Regions from separate parts of the Homo sapiens genome. Here all the other regions are linked to region 1. Evidence: promoter capture Hi-C in 16 types of primary human blood cells and fetal thymus (Javierre and others, 2016). All regions are on one chromosome and are shown on one strand. Each heading gives the region's core, a stretch centred on a gene start or on the middle of the fragment in contact. The rest is flanking DNA. Distances are from core to core; before and after follow the strand shown.

The links. The method cuts DNA at HindIII sites, captures the fragments that hold promoters and counts their contacts. A CHiCAGO score of 5 or more calls a contact.
Region 2: a contact is called between a fragment that was not itself captured here and the fragment with the promoter of POMP in region 1, in 1 of 17 cell types (megakaryocytes). The highest score is 5.4, in megakaryocytes.
Region 3: a contact is called between a fragment that was not itself captured here and the fragment with the promoter of POMP in region 1, in 3 of 17 cell types (endothelial precursors, megakaryocytes and fetal thymus). The highest score is 6.3, in endothelial precursors.
Region 4: a contact is called between a fragment that was not itself captured here and the fragment with the promoter of POMP in region 1, in 1 of 17 cell types (fetal thymus). The highest score is 5.3, in fetal thymus.
Region 5: a fragment that was not itself captured here is called in contact with the fragment with the promoter of POMP in region 1 in 4 of 17 cell types (naive CD8 T cells, total CD8 T cells, activated CD4 T cells and 1 more); the score reaches 7.0 in naive CD8 T cells.

The regions. Positions count from the first base shown.
Region 1 is chr13:28,654,708-28,660,503 of GRCh38, forward strand. It overlaps POMP (proteasome maturation protein), which reads left to right and starts at 4,423. Exons shown (of 6, transcript NM_015932.6): 1 at 4,423-4,480. The coding sequence starts at 4,478. RefSeq lists an enhancer at 3,916-4,075 and a silencer at 4,296-4,355. The HindIII fragment of the contact is 5,788 bases long and covers 1,612-5,796 here.
Region 2 is chr13:28,044,959-28,050,754 of GRCh38, forward strand. It overlaps FLT3 (fms related receptor tyrosine kinase 3), which reads right to left. Exons shown (of 24, transcript NM_004119.3): 6 at 5,137-5,264; 7 at 4,677-4,816; 8 at 4,426-4,579; 9 at 3,317-3,485. Among named protein-coding and RNA genes, the nearest start is that of FLT3, 53 kb to the right of the region's middle. RefSeq lists an enhancer at 5,116-5,796. The HindIII fragment of the contact is 4,034 bases long and covers 911-4,944 here.
Region 3 is chr13:28,067,058-28,072,853 of GRCh38, forward strand. FLT3 (fms related receptor tyrosine kinase 3) reads right to left here. Exons shown (of 24, transcript NM_004119.3): 2 at 3,434-3,555. It also overlaps the pseudogene KATNBL1P1. Among named protein-coding and RNA genes, the nearest start is that of FLT3, 31 kb to the right of the region's middle. The HindIII fragment of the contact is 1,982 bases long and covers 1,852-3,833 here.
Region 4 is chr13:28,094,116-28,099,911 of GRCh38, forward strand. The region is part of intron 1 of FLT3 (fms related receptor tyrosine kinase 3); the gene reads right to left. Among named protein-coding and RNA genes, the nearest start is that of FLT3, 3.6 kb to the right of the region's middle. The HindIII fragment of the contact is 281 bases long and covers 3,594-3,874 here.
Region 5 is chr13:28,126,175-28,131,970 of GRCh38, forward strand. No RefSeq gene overlaps it. Among named protein-coding and RNA genes, the nearest start is that of PAN3, 9.5 kb to the right of the region's middle. The HindIII fragment of the contact is 5,013 bases long and covers 1-4,690 here.

The sequences.
Region 1 (5,796 bases), core at 3,173-5,672:
CTTCCCAACACTGTAAGAATTTAAATCATTTAAAGAAGATCTGGATATATTTTTTATAACTTATAGATTCTTTTCAGGCCCTCGAAAACCTAGTAATTTTCTTATTGTTTAAGATTTGTATAATACCACTACCCTTATATGAACTACTCCTCCACCCCTAGCCTTGTAGGGAAGCATAATTTTTTTTTTTTTTTTTTTTTTTTTTGAGACAGGGTCTCGCTCTGTCGCCCAGGCTGGAGTGCAGTGGCACCATCTCGGCTCACTGCAACCTCCACCTCCTGGGTTCAAGTGATTCTCCTGCCTCAGCCTCCCGAGTAGCTGGGATTACAGGCGTGCACCACCATGCCCAGCTAATTTTATATTTTTAGTAGACACAGGGTTTCACCATGTTGGCCAGGCTGGTCTTGAACTCCTGACCTCAGGTGATCCACCTGCCTCAGCCTCCCAAAGTGCTAGGATTACAGGAGTGAGTCTCTGCGCCTGGGCCTGCCTCCTTTTTCTAACAGCTGCATCTTTGTCCTTGATTCCCTCTCACAACTGTTCTGGGCATCTGAGAGATCATTATCTCAATCATTCCTTCTTGCTGCTTCTCTTCCCTGCTGTCTTCACTCTTGCCCCTTCACCAACTCTTTCTAACATCTGCCTAACAAACTTTGGTCTGTCCAATCATGCACATGAAACAAAAACAAAACCCAACTTTCATTCAAACCAAAATCCTGATTCTATTTTTTGAAATGGACAACTTTCTGAAAAGAATGATCTATAAAATTTGGCTGCCTCCATTTTCTTCTTATAAATTCTTCATTCCTAACAATCTGGTTTATAGTTAAACTGCTCACCAGAAGATTATGCAAATGACATCCCATTTGCCAAACCCCATCGATCTTCCCATAATCATTATCTGACATCACTGGTCATTCCCTTATCTCAACATCGTATCTTCCTTAGCTCTGAGACATTTTCAGACCTCTCTTCTCTATGCCTCTTCCAGCTTCTTAAGTTCTAAAGAGACACTCACTACATACTAGATTTCAAAATCCTGCTGAGTACCTGCCTAAAGTATGCAAGGCACTGTGCTGTGGAGACAAAGCAGCTTTTAAGAGGGGGCTAACCAAGCAGGCTGGGTAATAGGGTTTGGGTGCCCAGGGCCAAGCTTAGGCAAATAACAGAAAAGAGCAAAGTTAAGTGTAATTTTAGATCGTTAGGGAGCACTAAAATTTAGGTCAGAAGACCCAAATTCAGCTGACAAGATGAAGTACAAGAATAGTACCCAAACAGGAGACAGATGAGGTAACAAATGGGGAAAGAGCTAGGAGGAGGGAGGAGGGTTCTTGCCAGATGTGAATGAAGCTGAATTTGTCCTCAGTTTACCTAGCTATGTCACCAGACTGACTTAAGAGTAAAGTCAAAGACGACTACAAAAAGTAAAACAAAATAGGGTGCTTGTTCTCATACAATGCCTCAGCATTTTCTGTGAAATGTGCATAATGATAGTATCTACCTCACAGGATTAATTGAAACAATATATGCAAAAAACTAAACCCTGGCCTGACATGTAACAAATGTTAGCTATCATTACTAATGTTCTATCCTCTAAGCTATTTAACATAAAGCTTAAGTAAACATAATTAAATCATTCCAGCATCAAATCTAATTTACTTCTTATTTAGCATACTCAAAAGTACCCCGTATTAGTTAATACTGTAACAAACCATTTAAAATAGGACATAAACTTGAGTGTAAGACTCAAAATAAAGGGAATTTTCTCCTTGCTGAGCCACTAAAACAACTCTTCACACTGGTCACCAAAAGCCTATTTTCAGGGCTTTATGATCCCTTTTTAGCTACTTTTGAACTACTTTCTAACCTCTCAATACTTCCTTGCCCTTTTGATTCGAAGATGGCATAGCCTTTAAAGCAGGCTCCCCTTCTTCTGGCTGTCTTTTGAATTCTGGTATTTCTTAGGTTCACTCCTACTTTTTCCTTCCTTTCAAAGCCTTTCCAGTATGTGACACTACCTTAGCGTACCATTAGTGGCTTAAATGGTATCCTGGTTCCTACTTTCTCCCAATCTTAGTCTGTCCTTCATGCTGCCACCAGAATTTTTTTTTTTTAATGCCAAATGTTTGTGAAAAGACCTCCATTATCTCCTGTTGTCTATAAGAAAAAGCCCTAAACCTCAGCATACCATAGAAGGCCCTTCGTTTTGGCCCCAACCTGTCCCTCCAACCTCATCTCATTTTGCTTCACCTGCTCACCCAGAGCTCCAGCCACAGGGAAATGTTTTCCATTACTCAGATAACAACACGACTTTTCACAGATCTCTTGCCTTTACATGTTCCTCTTCCGTGAATGCTGTTTTCTCCTGCTCCCAACAACTTTCTGGTTTAGCCCCTTTCTCTATCAAGCATTTATCACACTGCATTTTATTATTTTATTATTATTATTTGAGATGGAGTCTTGCTGTGTCACCTAGGCTGGAGTGCAGTGGCGTGATCTCTGCTCACTGCAACCTCTACCTCTCAGGTTCAAGCGACTCTCGTGCCTCAGTCTCCTGAATAGCTGGGACTACAAGCATGCACCATGATGTCTGGCTAATTTTTTTTTTTGTATCTTTAGTAGAGATGGGCTTTTGCCATGTTGGCCAGGCTGGTGTCGAACTACTGACCTCAAGTGATCTGCCTGCTTCCAGCTCCCAAAGTGCTAGGATTACAGGTGTGAGCCACTGCACCCAGCCCATGCTGCATTTTAAATATCTGTTTGCATGTCTATTTCCCCAGGAAAATATATAAGCATCTCAGGTACAGGGAATTGCTCTTTTCTTCTTTATAGCTCCAGAATCTAGTACCAAGCAAATGTTCAATACATATTCATTGAACTGTGAGCAATCAGCAAATGTTAAAATGATTTTTAAGAAAAGATTCGCAGTTTTACAATTTCTCAGGTGGAATTGACGGAAAGAAAAAAAGATGCAAACGAAACACTCCAACTCAAATCTCAGGATTAAACATGGCTATTGTGAAGGACCAGAAGACACCTAAAGGACAGCATGGCAGAACACATAACATCTGGAACTTCAAAGTTGTATGACCATGGCAGTGGATATACATAACATATATGGCCTTATCATTTTCCTCTCTCAAATCCTTCGATGGCTTTTTAAAGACAAAGCCTCATCCTTAATCTTGCCTACAAAGGCTGCATAAAAAACCTGTAGCTAGGTCCCATGATGCACGCCTGTAGTTCCCATTACTCAGCCGGCTGCAGCAGGAGAATCGCTTGAGCCCAGGAGTTCAACGCAGACCTGGGCAACATAGCTAAACCCTATCATTATTTAGAACAAACAAACAAAAACAACAACAAAAACCACTTGCCTCCATCTACTTACAACCTCATCTCACAGTACTCTCCACTTTACTTTCTGAACTTTAGCCAGACTTAGGCCTTCTTTCCAGTTCCGTTTTTGCACAAGCAGATCTGCACGTAATGTTGTTTTAAATATCCTACTACCCCAAACTAGTTCGCTCTTATCTTTTAGCTGTCAGTCCAAAGATTCCCTAAGATGTCTCCATCCTGTGGCAGCAGACTATAAGGCCGTTTTATTACATTATATTTGAACAATACAGAATAGTGTAATGAGCATGGATTCTAGACTCATAAATATGTCCTTAGGCATATTTATTTAAGCCCTTCATGTCTCGGTTTCTTCACCTGTAAATTGTACTTGTAAGGTTATTGAAAAGATTAAAAGAGATAAAGGATGTAAGCACTTAGAACTGTGTTGATAACGCAATTCAAAGGGCCCAACATATGTCGGTCATGATCACATTTACTTAATTTGTAGTCACTATCGTCCCCTCTCTCCCCTCTAGCCTCCGGAGTACCCCTGCTCCTCTAGCCCAGAGGCCACACCGGCCTGGTCCTTTTTTGTATTCCTAGCCTCAGCACAGGGTTCGGAACATACCAGGCCTTCAATATTATGTTTTTTAAAAATGACAAAAGCCTTGTGTCCCAATTTTGCTTTATTAGCCGAACGATCTCAAGCAAATCACTCAAACCACCTACGCCTCGTTTACCCTTCTGTGAAATGTAATAGCTACCTCAGAGAGGTTTTGTGTTAAATAAGGCGATGTACCTACAAAAGCACACTGCACATCTTAAAATGCCGTACAAACCGTAGATGTTTATTAATAAACCGGAGTCCGTGTCTTCCCTCCCCTCAGGCACGTCTCGTCCCGACCCCTCCCTCCTCCCAGCCCACACCCTTACTGCGCCCTTGGCCCTGGGTCCCTTGGGATTGCAAGCGTGGGAGCCTCGGCCCCGCGCAGCTCCCTCCGGCGTCCCGCGCCCTCCTTCCTTCCTCGCCAGGACGGACGCACTTCCGGCGGATGTGGGGGCCAGCCCTCGGAAACGGAAGTGAGCGGCGGGGTCGACTGACGGTAACGGGGCAGAGAGGCTGTTCGCAGAGCTGCGGAAGATGGTGAGTGGGTACCCGGGCGGCTGGAGTTCCACGCGGGCTCGGGACCGTGGCTCGGCAGAAACAGGCAGTCGCCTCCCAACCCGTCCCCGGTGGCGGCGGCGGCGGCAGCGTGGGGCTGAGGCCGGCCTCAGGCGCCATAATCTGTCGAGTCACGGGGTTTGGGTGGGTCGTGACTGTCGCCGGGGCCCGGCACTAGTCCCACTAGCAGTGCTTCGGCTTCATCCTGCTCCTCTTAGCTCGGTTTGCGCCCTTCCATCCCTTAGACCCCAGCAGGCCCAGACCTCCTCCCCTTACTTGGCGCAGAAGTGGAAAAGGCAGCCGTGAAAGTGCAACGTTCTGTGGGGTGGCGCTGGCGACCCTTTCCTTGACGGGTAACCTCTGGGAGCCCAGAGCTCTCAGACTCCTCATCTCCCCCAGCCCCCGCCCTTGTAACTGCCTAGTAAACAGCCCACAACTATAGGTCGCATTTGTGTAACGCAGCTTTGCTCTACAAACTTTTTTGAGAGCTTGTAGTGTGCTAGATGTTAGAGGGGAAAAAATCAGACAGTTGCTATTCCCTGTTTGCCAGTATTGTTAGTATATCTCCTCCCTCCTTCTCCTCCCCACCACTTTCTCTTTCTTTTTAACTTAGAAGTTGTGGTATTTGAGAAGAACACTGAGTCACCATTGCCACAGACTCTGATATCGGTACTGCTGGTAGGCCATCCATCCAAATCTAGAAAGTTTCTATTGGTAAATACTGCTAATCGTTATCTAAAAAGTTTTTTAGGCACTCTCAAATGTAACTAGTAGTTAGGTTTTCGTAGATTTGCCTTTCTCGGCTCCTTCCTTTATTAGAAACAGCAAGTACTAATCTTGATATTTTACAGAAGGAAATTGGGAAAAATGACAATAACAGAATCCAGAAGTCAGAATTCACCTTTTCTTTGTGCGTTGAAACCTTGTTACTTTACAATAAAGCAGTCCAGAAGGAGGAGAATGTTCATATAGGGAAGTAATAGAAGATACATTTGGAAAGCAACAATCACACATCTCTGCTGAAGGTCCCCAACTTCTGGTGGTTCAACAATCTTCTGACTTTATGATGGTGTGAAATCCATACACAGTCAGTAGAGGCCATATTTGAGTACCAATACAGCCATTCTGTTTTTCACTTTCAGTACAGTATTCAATAAATTACATGAGATACCCAGTACTTTTTAATAAAGTAGGCTTTGTATTAGATGATTTTGGCCGACTGTAGGCTAGTGTAAGTGTTCTGAGCACATTTAAGGTAGGCTAGGCTAAGGCCTGATGTTTAGTAGGTTAGGTGTGTT
Region 2 (5,796 bases), core at 1,678-4,177, 610 kb before region 1:
ATTCTTAGAGTTTATAAACTCCCTGGTGAGATGTGACATACATACTTATCTGTTGCCAGATAAGTAGGAATGAGTGAGGTACAAAACGCTATAGGAGTCAGGAGCTCACCTAATTCATTCATTTGGCTACCTCTATAGGATAACAATCTGGGGTCATGGGTATGGATTGTAGCCATGGAATGAAACTACATGAAGCAGCCCACTACATTGGCCCATGACCCATATGTCAGTGACATGGTCCCCAACTGGCGATTCTGTAAAATCTCAAAAGGTTATACCAGATATCACCAGCACAGTAGCAATCTGTGTACATTCTTGCGGGAGAGGGAAAGCAACATTACCTTATTCACTCTTGCAGCCCATCACAGCATCACACCCATCAAGAGGATATTAAAGTAATATTTGTTGAACTAAATTGAATCGACCCCTTCTCTCTTTGAATCAGGTTCAGAAGAGATTCCCATAATGCTAAGAGCTTATCTAACATGGGGATAGGATACAAAGGAGAGAGGGGACAGTGATATGCTGATTTCCTTCTGAACACAGGCCAAGTGGTAATCAAGTCAACTAGGGTAAAGAGGGGCTGACTCTCCAACCTTCTACATTTAAAAGCTTGATGGGCCAGGCGCGGTGGCTCACGCCTGTAATCCCAGCACTTTGGGAGGCTGAGGCGGTTGGATCACTTGAGGTCAGGAGTTCGAGAACAGCCTGGCCAACATGAAGAAACCCCGTCTCTATTAAAAATACAAAAAATTAGCTGGGCATGGTGGCATGCACCTATAATCCCAGCTACTTAGGAGGCTGAGGCAGGAGAATTGCTTGAACCCAGGAGCTTGCAGTGAGCCAAGATCGTGCCACTGCACTTCAGTCTGGGCAACAGAATAAGACTCTGTCTCAAAAAAAAAAAAAAAGCTTGATATTTCTGAATAACAGCTTACGATGACTGTGGGTTGATGCCTCTAAGGCAATGGTTCTCAAAAAAAAAAAAAAAAAAAATGCCAGGGGTTATTTTTCTCAATTTGGCAGTGTCTGGAGATATTTTTGGTCACACTGGGAAAAGGGAATGTGCTCCTGGCATCCAGTGGGAGGAGACCCGGGATGCTGAAAAGTATCCTACAGTGCACAGGACAGTCCTTCACAACAAAGAATTATCCAGCTCAACATGCCAGCAGCGCCACTGTTGACAAACCCTGAGTTTGGGGGAGTGTGTTTCAGTCAGCTCCCAGACCAGTCTGCATTCTTAATTACTTTAAAAATGAATGCTCTGAACATTGGGGGGTTTCAGTAAGAGACAGTAGACAACTCCATGCAAACCCTGCACTGAGATTCTAAAAGTCCCAACAAGGGACTTTTAGTACAAATCCCTTTTAGGTATAAAGAGTAACAATAATCATGAAACAAACACTTAGCGGAATCAAGGTGAAAAGAACTCCTACTCTTCATCTAGAACAGGGCTAGCCAATGAAACAGAATGTGAGTCACAACTTCAAGCCTTGTACATCATTTACAAATTCTGTTGGCTGTATAAAGTAAAAGGAAGCAGGTGAAATTAAGTTTAATAACATATTTCGCTGAATGCGATATATCCAAAATACTATCATTTTAATATATAATCAATGTAAAAATTGTTTTAATTTTATTATTATTTTTTCTTTTTGAGGCAGGTTCTTGCTCTGCATCCAGGCTGGAGTGCGGTGACGTGATCATGGCTACTGCAGCCTCGACCACCTGGGCTCAATCAATCCTCCAACCTCAGCCTCCCAAGTAGCTGGGACTAAAGGTGTACACCACCACACTCAACTCATTTTTGTATTTTCTGTAGAGATGGGATTTTGCCATGTTATCCAGGCTGGTCTCAAACTCCTAGGATCAAGCGATCCACCCGCCTTGGCTTCATAAAGTGCTGGGATGACAGGTGTGACCCACCGAGCCCGGCCAATATAAAAATTATTAATAATATATTTTACATTCTTTTTTTCATACTAAGTCTTCAAAATCTAGTGTGTATTTTACAATTAGAGTACATCTCAATTTGGACCAGACACACTTCAAGCTCTCAATAGCCACATGTGGCTGGTGGCTACCGTACCGGACAGCACAGATCTAGACCTGTGATAGGAATCACCAAAGGTTCTCATTAAAAAAGCAGAGTCTGAGCGTTTTGCCCCAGTTTTGAGTCAGCATGTCTGGAATGGGAGCCAGGAATCCACATTTTAAACATTTGCTCAGATGATTCTTACACAGTTGTTCAACAGACCACATGCTGAGAAAGGATGATTTATTCTAGTCCATTGACTTGTTTGAAAGATAACATGTGCGTCTCAGTGTCTCATAGCCTAGTCCAAAACCATGTTCCATAGCATTAGTTTAAAGAGACAAGAGATGTCATAACTATAGAAGATATAGGGGAAAGTTGTTTTTTGTTTTCCAAAGAAGGAATGGAGAATTCCTCCCACAAGAGAATCTTTCGGCTGGGTGCAGTGGCTCACGCCTGTAATCCCAGCACTTTGGGAGGCCCAGGTAGGGTGAATCTCCTGAGCTCAAGAGTCCGAGACCAGCCTGCGCAACATGGCAAAACCCTGTCTCTACCAAAAATACAAAAAATTAGTCAGGTGTGGTGGTGTGCACCTGTGGTACCAGCTACTTGGGAGGCTGAGGTGGGAGGATCACTTGAGCCTGGGAGGTGGAGGTTGCAGTGAGCCAATATTGCACCACTGCACTATAGCCTAGGTGACAGAGTGAGACCTCATCTCAAAAAAAAAAAAAAAAAGAAAAAGAAAAAGAAAAGAAAATTTGTTGTTCTTAAAAAAAAGAATCTTGCATAGTTTCTCATACAAATCCCGAGGAAAACAACATTTTCCTTCAGCACTTACTATTGGGCTATTTCTGCATGTATTTTTTGAAAATTTAAATCAATACACCTATGAGTAATGTTTTTCTGTTTTTAAGGAGTTTTACTTCCTCAATCATCTGCAAATGTTTTAGGGGAGACTCAGTGTCCTACACACCGCACTCTCAAACAGGAAGTAAAAACTACCTTGTGACTCAGAAAATGCCAGAGAACCAGACTCAAACTAGACCAGACTAATACGGTTCTTTCTGTTTTCATGCAGCAGGTTATATTATCTAAAGTAATGGTAAGACTGCTACTGTATCCTCACATCTGCTTATTGTTTTCTTATCTCCAATTTCAACTCAATAATAGTTAAACTCATAAGTGAATTTGCTTCCATAAGTATAAAACTGTCCTTCTCAAGGGCGACAAGCAAGGAGAATTATGCTAAAAATGGTATCTTAGAGTCCTTTGTGGTCTCACCTGTATCCGTTATCAAGACCCTTTTGCTCACAAGGAAATGATTTTCGAGAGAAGGTCCACGTACATCTGATTTGTGGGTAGGCTTTAAACCTGACAGAAAAACAAAACTCTTCATATTGGTCAATTTCATAATCTTCACTTGAATTGGTAGCATTTATAAATCCCTTTTCTGTAAGAAAAAATAGGCATTTATGAGTTAGTTAATAATATTCATAGGGAAACGTATTGAGAAGATAAAATAAACTTGTATTCATCAGTTTAACACAGGAAAACTCAAGTGTTGGCATGCTGCAGGTCAGGTTGGATAATCCAAGTGAAAACCCAGGAGTCCTATCCCTAGTTCTAAGCCTGAGCTCATCATCTTTCGAAGTTAAGAAATGTTTAAAAAAAGAAAGAAGGAAAGAAAAAGAATGGGATGTAGATAATTGACTGTCTGGCCCCTGCTCTCAGCCAGCACCACTCTTCCATTGATGAGAGAGAGTAAAATAAACTCAAGGCACAAATAAAAGAGCGATCTGGCTAGCAATATTCACGAGGTTGCCTTATGGAACACTTCCTTATTAATCTGCTAAGAGCATCGCTGTATTTCTCGGCATTTTCATTATGGCTGAACGCTGTGCCCTAATCTGAGATTATTGAACTGTGGTTATTTTCAGATCCTACATACCCCACCAAAATTTCAGTGCATCTAAGGGCTTGTACTGTCTCTCAGTGCTCACTGCCCTAACAGTGCGGTTAGTTGGTTCTTAGAACTAGTATTTATTGTCCATTTTGTGTCAGGCTCTGTGTCAGGTTCTGGAACTACAAGGATAGAATGAGTTGTTCTTGTCCTTAAGAAACTTACAGTCTACTGGAGGATAAAAGTACACAAACAGATGGTCATATTACAATGTGTTATATGCAAAGACAGTGGCATTCAAGCGAGCCTGGTTTAACGGGAAAAGGAAGAGGGTGGGCAGATTATCTTTGCAAAGCTATTCTAACTCAGTTTCTTTCTTAGTGTTTGATAGTAGCATTATATTGAAATCAGAATTTGTACCACATACTTCACATTCCACACTACAGCGACTAAAAATAGGAATAAAGATTGTGTGAGCAGCCTGCATTACCTACGATGGTAACCAAAGCTGATTGACTGGGATGCTTTGAAGAGGAACAAGTGTAGTATCCGGTGTCGTTTCTTGCCACTGATGATACAAAAGCAAACAGAATCCGTATCATAGTTCTGTTTGTTGAATAGGTACTCATCTCAAAGTAGTTGCCCTAGGTTTTAATAAAACAGAGTTTGCATTTAATGTTTTCAATCCAGACTATTAGTTAATTGTTCCTGCATTTTCAGAATACAAACTTGTCCTATTACCTCCTCGAGTGCTTTGTTTTCTAATTCCCAGGTGAGCCCGAATCCATGGTTCACATGAACAGCTTTGCACCTTATCCATAAGGGTTCCCCTACTTTAAGAAATAATTGTGGCAATGTGGTCTGAGGAGTTTGATTTAGATCTAGGAGATGAAAACATCCCAAGTGAGAAAAAAAAAGTGATTTTTGCCTCATCACAAAAGATATCCTGAACATTCTGAACAAAGACTTTAGCATCATCTCAAATATTACTAACCACATTAATAAAAGAAGCTTTTAGAGACTGACTCCTCTTTTATGAAGAAATCAGCATTTACAGAATCCATAATATTGCATTTACTGTGACCTGAAGGAATGATAGGATTTCTGAAGTTGAATGATCACCTACGCAGTTACTGTTAGTCCCTGATAGTTGCTAAGAACCGGTCACTGAAAATGAAAGTGCATGATATTATAGTGTTACCTATTGTGAACAGCCTGGTGCATTCCCTGCCCAGTTCATTTCTGGCACAGCACCTTATGTCCGTCCCAAATAATTCATGAAGCACTTTTTCCTCCTTTTTAACAACAGCTGGACTTTCTTCTTTACAGCTGCAATTAGAAAAGAAGTACCATTTGGCTAAACAAGTTTTAAAATTACAAATGAATGCTCAAGAGGAGAACAAAGTTCTAGAGCCAGTTTTAAGGGTCAAATGGTAAACAAAAGGTCAAAAGGTAAACAAGCCCATATCTATGGTTTCAGCTAAGAGCTCAGAGGGGAGCTAGCTAGTTACTCATTATCGCAATGAATTAGCATAACACTAAGGAGAATTACATAACAAAACAGTTTAAAATTGTTCATGTTTGGTGATCTCTTTGTTGCTGTTGTTTAAAGACAGGGAAAGAAAGGGAAAAAAATGAGAAAGAAGATAAAGGAAAAAAAGAGAAGAAAGAGAGAAGAGAAAAAGCATGATTGGGCTTTCATGAAGTTTAGCAAGGTAAGCATCCTTTTGGGACGCAGTAAGGGAGGGGGAAGCTAAAGTTTCAAAAGTCACCCGAGTTCCCATAGGAACAGAGGAGGGCCAAGGTGTCACCCACAAGGGAAGTCAGCCAAGACTCCCAAGTATTCAACAGAGCAAAACCC
Region 3 (5,796 bases), core at 1,593-4,092, 590 kb before region 1:
CTTGTTGCCAGGCTGGAGTGCAATGCATGATTTCAGCTCACCGCAACCTCCGCCTCTGGGGTTCAAGCGATTCTCCTGCCTCAGCCTCTTGAGTAGCTGGGATTACAGGCATGCGCCACCACGCCTGGTTTATTTTGTATTTTTTAGCAGAGACGGAATTTCTCCATGTTGGCCAGGCTGGTCTCGAACTCCCAACCTCAGGTGATCCACCTGCCTGGGCCTCCCAAAATGCTGGGATTACAGGCGTGAGCCACCGTGCCCAGCCCCTGTAAAAAGTTTTTAAAAATTAAAGCTGGGTACAATCCACAATCTGGATAGACAAATCTGCGGGCTTCAGAGGAGAGAGAATAGCATGATAAATGCACAGTACAGAGGCAGTGGGCTCCACCGCTGGCAGTCCGGGAATAGCTTGAGCCAGGCTGACCAGGAGCCAAGGGATGTTCTTGAAGGCCAGGCCACGTTCTTCACCACCTGGCAGAGCTGAGTCCCACAGAGCCATGAAGGCACTGGAATTTAAGAGACTGTGATATCTCAAAATCACAATGTTAAAAAAAAATACAACTTTTGTAATAACACTGAAATTCAGTCTGTTGATCTTCTTATAACAAGTATAGCTAACTAATGAGGACATGAAATCACTAACACAGTTGTTGTCTGCTTACGTAAGTAAAACAGCTGCACAAGCTGTGAAAAGTCCAGAGAAAGCACGTAAAATGATCCATCACACAAAGTCCACCATTCTTTCCCAAATCCTTGTTACAGAAAACCAACCAACAAACAAACAAATCAACAACTCATTCTCTAGAAGTACAGGGTGGGACATGGCAAATAAAGAAAATAAGCTGGCTTGTGCAGGCCACCTGCCTGAAATATGAGGTCATGATTGTCAAACACATTTGGTCAACTCCAGTAACTTCAGTTCTTCACAAAGAGAAAACCAGTCATTAAACCATAGTGGAGACTTTTTGTTTTTATTATTTTTGTTTTTATTATGTTTTGTTTTGTTTTGTTTAGACTGTGCCGCAATGGCACAAGATCTGTTCAGGAGGAATGTGACATTAAATGCAGCTTTGACTTTCTGGAGGAAGGGAGGTATAAATGAACCTATTTGGTAAGGAGAGATAATTTTAGAGTTATGGTGGATTGCCTGCCTATGCTCTCTAATCACTGACAGGAAAAAAAAAACAGTACATCTCACTCAGCTGCTGTGAATACTTGGTGCCTTAGTATAGTCATCTCTTAAAAGCAAATTTGAAGAATATGGAATAGTTGGTGATATGGTTTGGATGTGTGTCCCCTCCAAAGCTCATGTTGAAACGCGATTCCCAGCCAGGTGCAGTGAGTGGCTCATGCCTGTAATCCCAGCACTTTGGGAGGCCAAGGTGGGCGGATAACCTGAGGTCAGGAGTTCGAGACCCATCTGGCTAACATGGCAAAACCCGTCTCTACAAAAAAAAAATCTATGATATATATCATATATATATATGAGATATATATCAGCCAGTAGCAGTGGCTCATGCCTGTAATCCCAACACTTTGGGAGGCCAAGGCAGGCTGGAGGGCAGTGGCACAATCTTGGCTCACTGCAACCTCCACCTCCCTGGTTCAGATGATCCTCCGGCCTCAGCCTCACAAGTAGCTGGGACCACAGGCGCACACCACCATGGCTGGTTAATTTTTTTGTTGTTGTTGTATTTTTGATAGACACGGGGTTTCACCATGTTCCTCAGGCTGGTCTCAAACTCCTCAGCTCAAGCGATCCACCCACCTTGGCCTCCCAAAGTGCTGGGATTACAGGTGTGAGCTACTGTACCTGGCTGATTTCTACTATTTTCAGTTCTCCATCACTTAAGCTTCCCTTGAGTAAATTTACTAAATATATGTTTTTAAAATAGAGGGGTAGGAATAGCACAAGAGAGGGGGTAATGAAAAACAAGACGAACAGCGTAAAAGAGAGGAGTCATGAAAAACAAAGTCGGAACTTGAAGGAGCCAGAGCCAGATTACTGAGCAATCTTGGTATCAGTCTAAGTAATGGGAAATCATGGAGGGTTCAGAGCCAGGCAATGAAGGATGTGCCTGCTTCAGGGAGGCTAGCCCAGCAGCTACCTCTGAGATGAATTGTAGCAGGAAGAGGCCACTTAGGATATCACTGTGATTATGAGGGAGTTAACGAGGGCTTGACTTAGGGAAGTGGCAGTGAGACTAGAGAATATGAGATGATTATATGAGAACTCCTAAAGGGGATCGACAACACTTGGTAACTGACCAAATGTGAAAGTAATAGAAAGAAAGTAGTCCAAAATGATGCTGAGCTTTCAAGCCTGGGAACTAAACAGGGGTATAAACAGAAATCAATAAATACAAGAATAAGAGCAGGCTTGGGGAAATAGAAATGAAATAAAATAAATGACATAGGTGGATTTTGATGTGCAAATGGAAAATCTACCTATATACTGGGGGCAGCTGGAAGTGAGGGATTCAGGCTTGGAAGAAAAGCCAGGATTCTCTTTAAGGAGAAAAGGAAATACAGTAGGCCCTCTGTAACCATGGGTTCCGCATCCATGGATACAACCAACCACAGATTGAAAATATTCCGAAAAAAATGGGGTTGCATCTGTACTGAACATGTACCGACTTTTTTCCCTTGTCATCATTATTCCCTAAACAATAGGGTATAATAACTATTCACATAGTTGTTTAGGTATTATAAAGCATTTGCATCGTATTAGGTATTATAAGTAATCTAGAGATAATTTTAAAAGTATACAGGAGGGTCAAGCATGGTGGCTGAGGACTGTAATCCCAGCACTTTGGGAGGCTTAGGTGGTAGGATCAGTTGAGCCCAGGAGTTCAAGATCAGCCTGGGCAACAGAGTGGGACCCCATCTTTGCAAAAAATAAAAAAAATTAGCCAGGTGTGGTGGCATGTGCCTTTAGTCCCAGCTAGTTGGGAGGTTGAAGTGGGAGGATTGCTTGAGCCCGGGAGGGCGAGGCTGCAGTGAGCTATGATCATGCCACTATACTCCAGCCTGGTCAACAGAATGAGACTGTCTCAAAAATATACAGAATCTGCATAGGTTACATGCAAATACCAAGCCATTTTATATCAGGTACTTGAGTATCCATGGATTTTGGTATTAGTGAGAGTCTTGGAACCATCCCCGCTGTATACCAAGGGACGACTCTACTCATTACTTCATGCTAGTTATCAATCAGTGTCCTTCCTAAATCCTCATATGAAGAATACGGTTCTTGAAGGAATGGAGTGCCAGGGAGCTAGGAGTATAGATGCTCTGTTGGTACCAGATGTGAGGCCATAATATACTTAAATACATAAAGAGAAGCCCATTTAGCCATGGTAGGCTTCAATAACTTACAAATTACGTTCTCTAGAGAAAAACAGCTAAAGGTATAATTTTAATGTTACTTTACCATGGGATATGATGATGACTTCCCCACTGATGAATCATTGTTCTTATGATTGATTAAAACACACTTGATCACAGGCAGATCTTGATTTGTAATAGTCCCAAATATCATTGCAGAAAAAACAACTGTAAAACAAAATAAAAATGATAATGTTGATACATGCACACCTTAAAAAGAAAACATGCATTTATCTTGCAACCAAACAACAAAACAAAGTGTAATCAGAGGAAATTGGCCACTATGAAAGTATGTAGGAAATTTGATTTTATGCAAGTTTAGTCTAGTTTAAATCAGGAGCAGAGATACTTAGAGCAGGGCTGTCCAATAAAACAGTCTGCAGTGATGGACATGTTCTATGCCTGTGCTGTCTAATATGGTAGCGACTAGCTACATGTGGCTCTTAAGCTTTTGAAATGAGGCTAGTTTGACTGAGGAAATGATTATTTGTATACATGATTTGTGTGTGTGTGTGTGTGCACTTTTTATTGTATATAGATTTCTACCTTTTTTTTTTTTTTTTTTTTTGAGATGGAGTCTCGCTCTGTCGCCCAGGCTGGAGTGCAGTGGCGCGTTCTTGGCTCACTGCAAGCTCCGCCTCCCAGGCTCAAGTGATTCTCCTGTCTCAGCCTCCCGAGTGGCTGGGATTACAGGTGCCCGTCACCGTGCCTGGCTAATTTTCTTTCTTTTTTTTTTTGTATTTTTAGTAGAGACGGGGTATCGCCACGTTAGCCAGGCTGGTCTTGGACTCCTGACCTCAGGTGATCCACCCGCCTCTGCCTCCCAAAGTGCTGGGATTACAGGTGTAAGCCACTGTGCCCGGCCTGGTATATTCTTTTTTTCTCTATGGGTGCTTATAGAATCTTTTCTTTGAAACCACAGCACTAAAATTTTCAAAATTATGTGCCTTCCTGAGAGTCTATTTTCATCCATTGTGCTGGGTACTCAGTGGGCCTTTTCAATCTAGAAATTCATATCCCTCTGTTTGGCATTTTCTTGAATTATTTCTTTGATTCCTTCTCTCCTCTTTACTTTCTGTTTGCCCATGATTTAGATATTTTCCCCAAATGACTGACAATCTTTGACAGTCTCTTCACATATAAGAATGAAGTGCTGAGCGTCTATCCTAAGCTCTATGATGTGGCTTGTGGCTCAATCTCTGTAGGTGTATATTTAGGTCTTTTCTCACCGGTTGGTCCGACTCCCCAGAGAAGATTCTCTCTCTTGCTTGCTGCCTGTGTCCTGCGAGCTGGTCTTGGCAAGTTATACTATTGTGGGGTCCTGCAATGAAAAGCAGGCTGCTTCTCAGCTTTCTCAACCCCCAACTATAATTCAGCTTTCATCATCTGCTTCTTCTTTTTAATTTTTTTTTTAAGAGACAGGATCTCGCTATGTTGCACACAGTGACTTCAAACTCCTGGACTCAAGTGATCCCCCTGCCTTGGCCTCCCAAGTTGTTGGATGATAGGTGTGAGCCACTACACCCAGCTTTATCTGCTTTAAAGCTCTCAAAGTTTTACTTTCTCCTTCTCCACCCTCTTTGTCTTTCTATGTTTATATCTTTGTTTCTTTGGGGGTATTAGGTATAATTGGCAAATAAAAATTGCAGTGTACATCATATATTCACAGTGTACATCATGTAATTTTCATATATATATAAAAATATATGTGTATTTATATATAATGTGTGTATGTATATGTATATATTAAGTATATATACATATATATGGGCTTCTCTTTATGTATTTAAGTATATATGTACATATAAGTATATACACATATACATACACACATTGTGAAACGAATACCCCAAACAAGCTAACTAACCTATCCATCAGCTTGTATACTTATCTTTTTCTTTTTCTTTTTTGGTGATGAGAACATTTAAGATCTACTCTCTCTCGCTCTCTCTCTCTCTTTTTTTTAAATTGAGACAGAGTCTTGATCTGTTGCCGAGGCTGGAGTGCAGTGGCACGATCACTGCTCACTGCAACCTCTGTCTCCGGGGTTTGAGTGATTCTCCTGCCTCAGCCTCCCAAGTAGCTGGGATCACGGGTGTGCGCCATCATGCCCAGCTAATTTTCGTGTTTTTAGTAGAGACAGCATTCACCTTGCTGGCCAGGCTAGTCTCAAACTCCTGGCCTCAAGTGATTCAGCTGCCTTGGCCTCCCAAAGTGCTGGGATTACAGGCATGAACCACTGTGCCTGGCCAAGATCTATTCTCTTAACAAATATGCGGCCGGGCGTGGTGGCTCACACCTGTAATCCCAGCACTTTGGGAGGCCGAGGCGGGTGGATCACGAGGTCAGGAGCTCGAGACCATCCTGGCTAACGTGGTGAAACCCCGTCTCTACCTAAAAAAATACAAA
Region 4 (5,796 bases), core at 2,484-4,983, 560 kb before region 1:
GAACTTAAGTGCAGAGACATTCTCTGCCACAGAAAACAGCACGTTTCTTAAATGTGTTTTTAGTCCTAATATATCTATGGGCATTACCTCCAAGAACATAATATCAAACATTAGGAAAAGCATAACTCAAATAACAAAATATTCCAAGACCGAATTCAGTGACTATCTTATACACTGTCTTATACACTAAAGCCTGCTTTAGCATAGACTGTAAATAATTGTATGGAAGATTCTTGGCTACCAATTGACCTTATAATGACAGCAGTAAAAAAATGTATATTTTTTTACTGTTTAACCTAAAAAAAAATGGTTCCTCTTTTAGGATCTTATGCAATTTCTGTGGCCACAAAAGAACACTGTGTGCACTTTATATATTTTTTTCCTTTCTTTTTTCTTTTTTTAGAGATAGCATCTTGCTCTGTCACCCACGTTAGAGTACAGTGGCATGGTCGTAGCTCACTGCAGCCTCAAATTCCTGGGCTCAAGCTATCCTCTTATCTCAGCCTCCTGAGTAGCTGAGGCTACAGGCATGTGCCTCTACGCTCAGTTAATTTTTAAATTTTTTTGTAGAGACTGGGTCTCGCTGTATTGCCCAGGCTGGTCTTGAACTCCTGGGCTCCAGTGATCCTCCCACCTAGGCCTCCCAAAGTGCTGGGGATACAGGTGTGAACCACTGCACTCTGCCTACTTTTATATTATTTTAAAATTTCCTTCACATGTGTTGGTACTCATAGAACAGAATTGCGTGAGTCAAATTAGTGACCAGTAGTGACTTCTACAAAAGCTTTCATTACTTCAAAACCACTGATAATGCAGCCATAGAAAGTATCAACCAAGAATAACTAAATCACTTAGGTATAAAACTCGCAGATTCCCCAAAGACAGAAAAATCTTCGACCCTATAACTGTGACTACCTGAGAAGTGGATACAGCTTTTCTGGAAGTCATAGAAAAACATCTTAAGATCACAAAGTCTCCTGATAAAAACCAAAAAGCTTGCAGGTGAGCAGTCTGGGTATATAAGAAAAAACAAAAAACCAAAAAGCTCTACTCAGACAAACCACCTACTGTGAAGTTCACAAGAATTTGCTATTTCAGAGGGAATAAAGGATACAGCACAGTGTCAAGACCAAGCTAAGCCAATTTCCAGCCCTTCAGTTTCCCCTCTCTTTTTTTTTTGAGAAGGAGTCTCGCTCTGTCTCCAGGCTGGAATGCAGTGGCATGATCTCGGCTCACTGCAACCTCCACCTCCCAGGTTCAAGTGATTCTCCTGCCTCAGCCTCCTGAGTAGCTGGAACTACAGGCGTGCGCCACCACACCCAGCTAATTTTTGTATTTTTAGTAGAGACAGGGTTTTATCACGTTGGCCAGGATGGTCTTGATCTCTTGACCTCGTGATCTGCCCACCTTGGCCTCCCAAAGTGCTGGGATTACAGGCATGAGCCACCTTGCCCGGCCCCCTCTCCAAATTCTTACTCCTGTTATCTACAAGATCCCTTTCAAAGTTAAGAAAAATGATAAAATACAATACTCTTGAGATTATTTGCTTTTTGTCAAATCAAAATCTTTGCCCAAAGATTAAGGCAATGTCTGGTAGGTATGTGGGGAGGCAGCAAGACTGTAATCTTGAACTTGAATGATAGGGGTTAGTTACTGTCACCCTGCTTGCCGAGTGTCATGCAAGGATGAGATGAGAGGAACACAAAGAACCGTGGATATGTTGTTGAAGCCGAGGCATTTTGTGGGCTTCTCAAATGAGCAGGAATACCCTCCCAGAGTAAAATGTGGTCAATACCTTTGCTTAAAGAATGATTTGGAAAAGTGCTTCTTCCCAAGACCTAAAAGATGACCATATTTAGCTTTGGAACAGTTTGTTCCTTTTACTTTAAATGGAAGAGCATTTTCTTTCCCATAAGCATTAAATACAGTACTATATCTCCATTTTTAAGTAGTTTTAGGCTGGGCGCACTGGCTCACATGTGTAATCCCAGCACTTTGGGAGGCTGAGGCAGGAGGATTGCTTGAGCTCAGGAGTTCAAGACCAGCCTAGACAATACAGTGAAACCCCATCTCTACAAAAAATACAAAAATTAGTCGGGTGTCATGGTGCATGCCTGTAGTCCCACAACTCAGGAGGTTGAGGTAGGAGGCTTGCTTGAGTCCGTAAGGCAGAGGTTGCAGTGAGCCGAGACTGTACCACTGCACTCCAGCCTGGGTGATAGGGCCAGGTCTTGTCTCAAAAAAAATTTAAAAAGTAGTTTTAGGGGGCAAAAAACTGGGATCCCTTTTCTGACCAGGCTAAAGCTTCCTTCATTGACGCATGCAATTTTTTTTTTTTTGAGATGGAGTCGCACTCTGTCACCAAGGGTATAGTGCAATGGCGCAATCTTGGCTCACTGCAACCTCTGCCTCCCAGGCTCAAGTGATTCTCCTGCTTCAGCCTCCCAAGTAGCTGGGATTACAAGCGTCTGCCACCACGCCTGGCTAACTTTTGTATTTTTAGTAGAAACAGGGTTTCACCATGTTGGCCAGGCTGGTCTCAAACTCCTCAAGTGATCTGCCTGCCTCAGCCTCCCAAAGTGCTGGGATTACAGGCATGAGCCATCGCACCCAGCCAGACTCATGCAATTTTTAATGTATATTTAGTAATCATAATAACTGTGTTGGAAGGTTTAATAAAAGAAAGCATACTGAAATACTTTTCCTGGGGAAAGGCAATGACCACACATTTCTTAAAAAAATAAAATTGGTTATTTATACACAAGTTCCCCTACCTCCATCTCTTTAATCTTTGTACTGCTTGTGCCTAGCAAGAAATAGGTATTCTGTCAGGCACGGTAGCTCACACCTGTAATCCTAGCACTTTGGGAGGATCACTTGAGCCCAGGAGTTCAAGATTAGCCTGAGCAATACAGTGAGATCTCATCTCTACCAAAAAATTTTTCAAAAAATTAATGAGGTGTGGTGGCACGTGCCTGTGGTCCCAGGTACTCAGGAGGCTGAGGTAGGAGGCTTGCTTGAGCCCAGGAGGTTGAAGCTGCAGTGAGCTGTGATCACACCACTGCACTCCAGCCTCAATGACAAAGGGAGACTGTCGAAAGAAAGAAAGAAAAAGAAAGAAAGAAAGGAAGGAAGGAAAGAAGGAAGGAAGGAAAAAAATGGGTATTCAATTAAAGTTTGTTAAATAAAAACAGATTTTTTCTTCCTAATGCATGTTTTCTCTTCATTTTTCTTATCTGAAGTCTTCCCTTGGAATATAAGTAAGTCTTCCTCCTTCCCATTTAATATCTCATTGCCTGATTGTTTTTCAGTTTAAACAACAGGAGAATCCAATAACAAATATTTACCAATAGCTAAGAGTTACTGAAAGTGCCTTCTTAGTTATAAAAAGTTAATCCATTTTTAATGTAAGGCAAGAAGTTCACAATTAAACCTAAGAGGATAATTTACTATAGATAGACGTGAAGTACCTAAAAAGAAATGAATATCCAATCTACACCTATATAATGGCAAAAATTAGAACTAGAGTTTCAGAGTCAGAGGGGACATTAATGTCAGGTCGGCAGGTCTGGGCTCACATCCAATCCAAACCAAGCTTTGCTGAGTGTCCCTTCCCTCCACTTTCTCCTGAATCATTCCCCCTTGGGCTAGGAGTTTCCAAGAAGGCAAATAAACTAAGATAAGCAACAAGAGCAAAGAATGGCAACTCAAATGTGCAGTTCAAGGCTTTGAATACGAATTTTTTTTAACACTAATGAAAAAGGTAGTATCATAGCTCTTAAAATATTGAAATACTTCTCTCTGTCCAGTATCAGCAGATAATGCAGAAAAGCCCATTGGGAACATGTTCCTCTCCTTCAAATGCCACTTAGAAAGCTTCATCATTATTCATAAATGATGAATAGAAGTCTGGGCATGGCCGGGTGTGGTGGCTCATACCTGTAATCCCAGCGCTTTGGGAGGCTGAGGTGGGTGGATCGCCTAAGGTCAGGAGTTCGAGACCAGCCTGGCCAACATGGTGAAACCTCGTCTCTACTAAAAATACAAAAATTAGCTGGGTGCGGTGGCACGCACCTGTAATCCCAGCTACTCAGGAGGCTGAGGCAGGAGAATCGCTTGAACCTGGGAGGCGGAGGTTGCAGTGAGCTGAGATCGCGCCACTACACTCCAGCCTGGGTGACAGAGCAAGACTCCGTCTCAAAAAAAAAAAAAAAAAAAAAAGTAGTGTTTACAATATAAGGGAAATTGGGATCCCATGTTCTAATTCAAAGAATTTAAGGCTATTAACCATTTTAAAGTTCTCATGTTTAAGCTTCTCACTTTATCCTTCTTTATTCAAGAAAATCCATAATACAAAGTATTGGCAAAGATGTGAGGAACTGGAACTGCCATACACTGCTAGTGGGAGTGGAAATTGGTGTAACCACTGTGGAAAACCGTTTGACGGTATCTACCAAACCTGAACATATCCCTTCCCTATGATCCAGGAATTCTACTTGTGGGCATAATCCTTTATACTGGTGTTTATGTCCACCATATATAAAACAATGTTCACAGCAGTGCTATGCATAATTACACAAAATTGGAACAACTTCCATGTGCTTCGTGAACATAATGGATAAAATAAATTATAAGATCTATTCATACCACGGAATGGTACCAGCAATTAAAAAAAAAAACACTGCTACAGAGAACAAGGTTGAATCTTATTATTATAATGTTGAGTAAAAGAAGGTGGACATAAAAGAGCACACGATGATGGTTTGGTTTACATGAAGTTCAAACATAGGCAAAAGCAATCCATGGCATCAGAAGTCAGAATAGTGGCTACCTGGGGAGGGGGTACTGACAGAGAGGGTGGAGCTAGAATTGCTCTATATCTCAGTCTGATCGTGGTTATTTGGGCACGTACATATGTGAAAACTAATGAAATTGTACTCTTAAGATGTGTGCATATTTACTGTGTGCCAATTATACTTCATTTAGAAATATCTGGAGAGAGAGACATAGAAATTTCTGAATTCTTTCCTAAATAGAAAAGAATTCCATGCAGCTTAAATATCGTTGCAAGTATTGATGCTTATACCTTTAGAAAGCCCATTATGCTTCTGAAAAATGCACTTACTACTTAATATCATACATAATAGAAAGCTAACATTTTGTATTAACGGAATCTGGAAAACATATTGTACTACACATTTGAAATTACAGATTTACTAACTAGTAAAGATAACTATTTAAGAACTAAAATGTCTTTGTTTTTCAACTCTTTTCCCCCGATTTCCATTTTTTACTTTTTATATTTCAGAATTATTTGTAACAAAAGCTATTGGATATAATTCCTGCACTTCTATATTGCAAGCATTTTCTCTATTTACCACAGAGACTTCAAGTCCTAGCATTTCAGAGCTGAAGGGGACTCGGACGGACTCCCTCACTGCACAGATGAGGACGCGGAGGCCGGGGGAGGTGAGTGTCAGTCCCAAGGTTGCAGACCTAGGACAGGGACCGGAGCTGCCGGGCACCCAGAACTCTGTCGCCTTCAACCCAAATTCGATTCAGTCCTCTCATCTTTCCAAATAGAAAGCTGACGCGAACCGATGGGAAGATTTTTTTTTTCAATAACAACTATGCTACCCAGCAGATTCTTTGGGGACAGTCCTCGGAGTCCTTGAAAACCCCTTTGGGGTTTATGCCAGGATAAGAAGAGACTAGAAGAAAGGGACAGCTAGTATTTTAATATGTAAATCTGTTTGCATAATATTTCCTAGGTAAACTATTCGTTGATCCAACCAA
Region 5 (5,796 bases), core at 934-3,433, 530 kb before region 1:
GAGATAGGGTCTCGCTGTTGCCCAGGTTGGAGTACAGTGGCACAATCATGGGGCTCACTGCAGACTTGACTTCCGGGGCTCAAGTGATCCTCCCACCTCAGCCTTCAGGGTAGCTGAGACTACAGGTGCACGTCACCATATCCAGATAGTTTTTTCAATATTTTGTAGAGATAGGGTCTCACAATGTTGCCTGGTCTGGTCTCAAGGGATCCTCCTGCCTCAGCTTCCCAAAGTGCTGTATTGCAGGCATGAGCCACCATACCCAGCCCTTTCATATCATCTTTTGAGAAATGCCTTTTCAAATCTCTTACTAATTTTTATTGGGGTGCTTATTATTTTCTTATTGATTTGTAGGAGTTCTTTACATGTTGTCTGGTTATATGTGTTGTTCATAACCCACTCCCACTCTTCACTATTTTAGAAGTGGCTTTAAAGATTAAATTCTTGATTGCACAACTGCACTCCAGCCTGGGAGACAGAGTGAGACTGTCACACACACACACACACCACGCAAGAAAGAAAGAAAAGAAAAAAAAGGCCAGGCACGGTAGCTCACGCCTGTAATCCCAGCACTTTGGGAGGCTGAGGCCAGCAGATCACCTGAGGTTGGGAGTTCGAGACCAGCCTGGCCAACATGGCGAAACCCCGTTTCTACTAAAAATACAAAAATTAGCCGGGCATGGTAGAGGGCGCCTGTAATCCCAGCTACCCAGGAGGCTGAGGCAGAAGAATCGCTGGAACCTGGGAGGCAGAGGCTGCAGTGAGCTGAGATTATGCCACTGCACTCCAGCCTGGGTAACAGAGCAAGACTCTGTCTCAAAAAAAAAAAAAAAAAAAAAAAAAAAGATTAAATTCATAGCAAGATCTCCTCTCTGCTGAAAAAAAAAATAGTTGGGTGTGGTAGCGTGTGCCTGTAGTCTCAGCTACTCAGGAGGTTGAGGTGGGAGGATCATTTGAGCCTGGGAGATGAAGTCTGCAGTGAGTTATTATCTTGCCACTGTACTGCAGCCTGGGCAACTGGGGAAAATCCTGTCTCAAAATAAATAAGCAAATATGCACTTTTTTTTTTCCCCCTGAGACCAGGTCTCATTCTGTTGCCCAGGCTGGAATGCAGTGGCACAATCACGGCTCACTGCAACTTCAACCTCCTGGGCTCAATCAGCCCACCTCAGCCTCCTGAGTAGCTGGGACTACAGGTGCACACCACCATGCCTGGCTAATATTTGTATTTTTTGTAGACAGGGTTTTGTCATGTTGTCCCGGCTGGTCTCCAAATCCTGGGCTCAAGCAATCCTTCTGCCTTGGCCTCCTAAAGTGCTGGGATTACAGTCGTGAGCCACCATGCCTGGCCTGGAACTGTTAAAATCTTATTGGTGAATTTAACTTATCAATATAAAATGTCCCTCTTGGCCGGGCGCAGTGACTCACAGGCCTGGCACTTTGGGAGGCTGAGGTGGGCGGATCACGAGGTCAAGAGATCAATACCACCCTGGACAACATGGTAAAACCCCATCTCTACTAAAAATACAAAAATTAGCTGGGCGTGGTGGCACGCGCCTGTAGTCCTAGCTACGTGGGATGCTAAGGCACGAGAATCACTTGAACCCGGGAGGCAGAGATTGCAGTGAGCTGAGATACTGCACTCCAGCCTGGCGACAGAGCGAGACTCCGTCTCAAAAATAAAGAAAACAAAAGTCCTTCTTTATCTCTAGGAGTATTTCTTGCTGTTAGTGCTCATATTATACATTTTTACCAGCTTTTTCCTTTGTTTTCTTGATTCCTTATTTTTAAGGTAGCATACTGTGGTAGATTTTATTTTCCAAAGGTGGCCTCAACAGTATGTCCCCATCCCACATGCTCTTCTAGAAACTACATCTTCATCAAAAGATAGAGTTAAACTCCCTATTCCTTGAGTCTGGGTAGGTAGGTGCCTGCTTCCATGAATAGCCTATAGTGGAGTTGACCCTGTGTAACTTCTCAGGCTCAGTTAGAAAAGGCCATGCAGTTTCTGCATGATTCTCTTCAGACACTCTTGGAACCCAGCCACAGTGCTGTGAGGGAGCACAAGCAGTCCATATTGAAGACCAGGTGGAGCAGAATTGAGGCCTTGGCCCACAGCCCTGGGTGATCTAGCATATGACAACTAGCACCAACTTGTCAACCATATGCCTGAGATATCTTGAAAGTGGCTTCCCATTCAGGTGAGATGTGGCAAAATAAAAAAGAGAAAAAAAAAAAAGAAAGAAAGTGGATTCTCAGCTCCCAGACAAGCTGCCCTGGGTGACACTGCATGGGGCAGATATAAGCCATTGCTGCCAAATACTACCAAAATTGAAGACTTGTAAGCAGAAATAAATAATCTGTAAGCAGAAATAAATGATTGTTTTCAGCCACTATGTTTCGAGGTGGGTTGTTATTCAGCAGTGGATAGCCAGAAGTGGAATAGAACCTTACAGATGGATTGTCTGTATTATTTCTGGATTCTCTGGAATTAGTTCTCTAATCTAATTAGGTTTAAAGGTATTGATTACCTTGCTTCCACTAGTAAAGGGGGCACATGTTAATTGAGCCACTGAATTAGGAGTTGAAACTGCACTTAGCCATATTTAGCTTTCTGAAACAGTAAATAAAAGAAGGAAATTATTGTAGTAGCTGGGGTGACTAATCCTATCAAGAAGAAACTGGACAGTCTGGACAACATAGTGAGACCCTGTCTTTACAAAAAAAAAAAAAAATCAGCCAGGTGAGGTGGTATACACCTGTAGTCCCAGATGTTTGGGAGGCTGAGGCAGGAAGATCACTTGGGCCCAGGAGGTCAAGGCTGTAGTGAGCCATGATTTGTGCCACTTCACTCCAGCCTGGGTGACAGACTGAGACCCTGTCTCAAAAAAGAAGAAGCAATCAGATCACTATTACACAATTAGGTAAGCAGTATGTCTGGAATGTATGAGGTCCCCTGGGGCATCTCACAGTACTCCCTTGCCCAGTGATTAAAGTCAAACTATAACTATCCCCTACAGACAGGACTGCTAACAACCCAGACCCTTAAAAATGAAGATGTGGGTCACCTCACCAGATAGGAATCATGAAAGCCTGGGTGGCTGCTGAAGGCAAAGGAAACATGGCATAGATAGTGGAAGAAGGAAGTACAGTAAGTCCTAACTTAAGGTTGTCAACAGGTTCTTGGAAACTACACCTTTCAGTGAAATGATGTATGAAGAAAACAATTTTACCAGAGGCTGATATAAACAAGAGTTAAATCCCTTAATCAGACTCTATTTATGGTCATGAAAACATCAACAAAGTTCTAAATAAAGACCAAAGCACTTCTAATATTAAACATTGAAAAAAATGTGGGCTATACATACATTTAAGAAATATTAATAAAAATAAGTAAGATAATTATTTACCCAAATATTCTAGCTCAGGGCCATGGGTGGCTGAAGCCCATCCCAGTAGCTCAGAGCTCTAGGCGGGAATCGCCTAGACAGGTGGCCATTCTATGATAGGGCATGCTCACATGACACCTATATTCACTCAGACTGGGAAAATGTAGCTGCAACAATTCTCCTCCTGTACACCGCTTTGGGATGTGGGAGGAAACTGGAGTACCTGGAGAAAACCCACATAAACATGGGGAGAACATGAAAACTCCACATCGACAGTGGCACCAGCTGGAAAGAGAATTTTTCTCATTAATGTTATAACTAAACATTATTGAAGGACCTGTTGTAATAAACAGCTTTGACCATGTGAATAAGGGGCAGAAATGAGGGTTGGAATAGTTATTTCTTCTTTTGAATATGTTTTTGTATATTAAACATCTTTTTTCTCTCCCTCCCCACTCCTCTACCATCGAATATACTTTGTGCCAATGGTAATTAACCTTATAGGATTTACATTACAGGATCATTATAGTGTGATTCAGCTAGGAGTGACTTTATATCCTCCTGTCCTGCAAGGGTTGCTTAAGTTTATGAAGGAAACTGATCATCTTAGCTGGAAACATGACTTTGTTATTGTCAGTTAAGAATGTTTACAGAAAAAGTGTGTATAGATGCCAAGATGTAGACTGTGGTGGCTTTGTACTATGTGAAATTAGCTAAACTGTAACTGTATTTACCAGAATTTCTTTCCTAGTACAGTTCTTCATCACTGTTGAAGACAAGAAGACTTTGTATGCAATTTGGAAGGCAGAAGTGAAGCAGTAGCCAGTGCAGCGTACCAGGCACTATTGCAACTTGCACAGGTTGTCACTGATCTGATAGTGGAGTGAGGAGGCAACGGGCCTGAGGATCTTTCCTTCAGTTTTTATAATTCATGGGCCAAGAGTATGTGCAATGCCATGGCAACTGCTGATGTCAGTGAGAAATAGACGTGTGTTCTAGTTTGTCCTCAGGAATTCCAGTTGTCCTTTTTAGATTCCCCTTTGCCCATGTTCTTGTTCATATCCAGTACTCCTTCCACACTACTGGTTAGGCTGACCCATAGCGGCTTCAGCTCTGCACTAGATGCTGACAATAACACAGCATAGACTCCTCCACCAGTTACTATTATGGTGTCAAATCTAATCCTACAATAAACCCCTCATTCTTTGTTTTTCATAGTGGTTGTGCTTCTCCGATTGAACCCTAATACACAGTTTTCTTATTCTATTACCCCAACCTGAAAGTCTTTGCCTTTTAACTGAAGCTTGATTGTTTACATTTAGTGTATTCAGACTTTAATCTAATTGTTTTCTATTTGTTCCCCCTGTTCTGTTTTCTGTCCTCTCATTTTCGATTAAGTACTTCATTGTTCCATTCCCTTCTATGAGGTTATTTATTATTTTACTTTGCTATTATATTAGTAGCCCTGGAAATTATAACATGTATCTCTGATTTACTTTAGTCTAAGATAAATAACCATTTTTATTACTTTTTTAAAATACAAAGACTTTGCGGTCCTTGATTTATACCTGATGGTTTATATGTTGATGTTTTTGTGTGCTTTAATTCTACATCTATTTAAAACTCCACAAGACACTGTTGTCTTATAGTCAATATTAATTTTTTACCCACATATTTCACTCAATTGCTCTTGATTCCTTCCATCTGGAATAGTGTACATCTGCTAGTGACAAATTATCTCACTTTTTCTGAAAGTCCTTATTTCATCTTCCATTTTATTTTTATTTATTTTTATTTTCTTGGGGGGACAGAGTCTCGCTCTGTTGCCCAGGCTGGAGTGCAGTGGTGTGATCTTGGCTCACTGCAACCTCTGCCCCCCTGGGTTCAAGTGATTTTCCCACCTCAGCCTCCTGGTAGCTGGGATTACAGGTGTGTGCCACCAGGTCCGGCTAATTTTTTTGTGTGTTTTTAATAGAGACGGAGTTTCACCATGTTGTCCAGGCTGGTCTTAAACTCCTTGCCTCAGGTGATCCACACGCCTTAGCCTCCCAAACTGCTGGGATTACAGGCGTGAGCCACTGTGCCTGGCCTTCCATTTTATTTTTATTATTAATCACTTTATTTTAGAGACAGGTTCTCGCTCTGTCGCCCCCACTAAAGTGCAATGGCATAATCGTAGTTCACTATACCCTCGAACTCCTGAGCTCAAGTGATCTTCCTGCTTCAGCCTCTCCAGTAGCTGGGACTATAACTGAACATCACCACGCCCAGCTAATTTTCCTTTTTTTAGACAGAGCCTCCCTCTGTTGCCCAGGCTGGAATGCAGTGGTGCGATCTCGGTTCACTGCAACCTCCGCCTCCTGAGTTCAAGTGATTCACCTGCCTCAGCCTACAGAGTAGCTGGGAC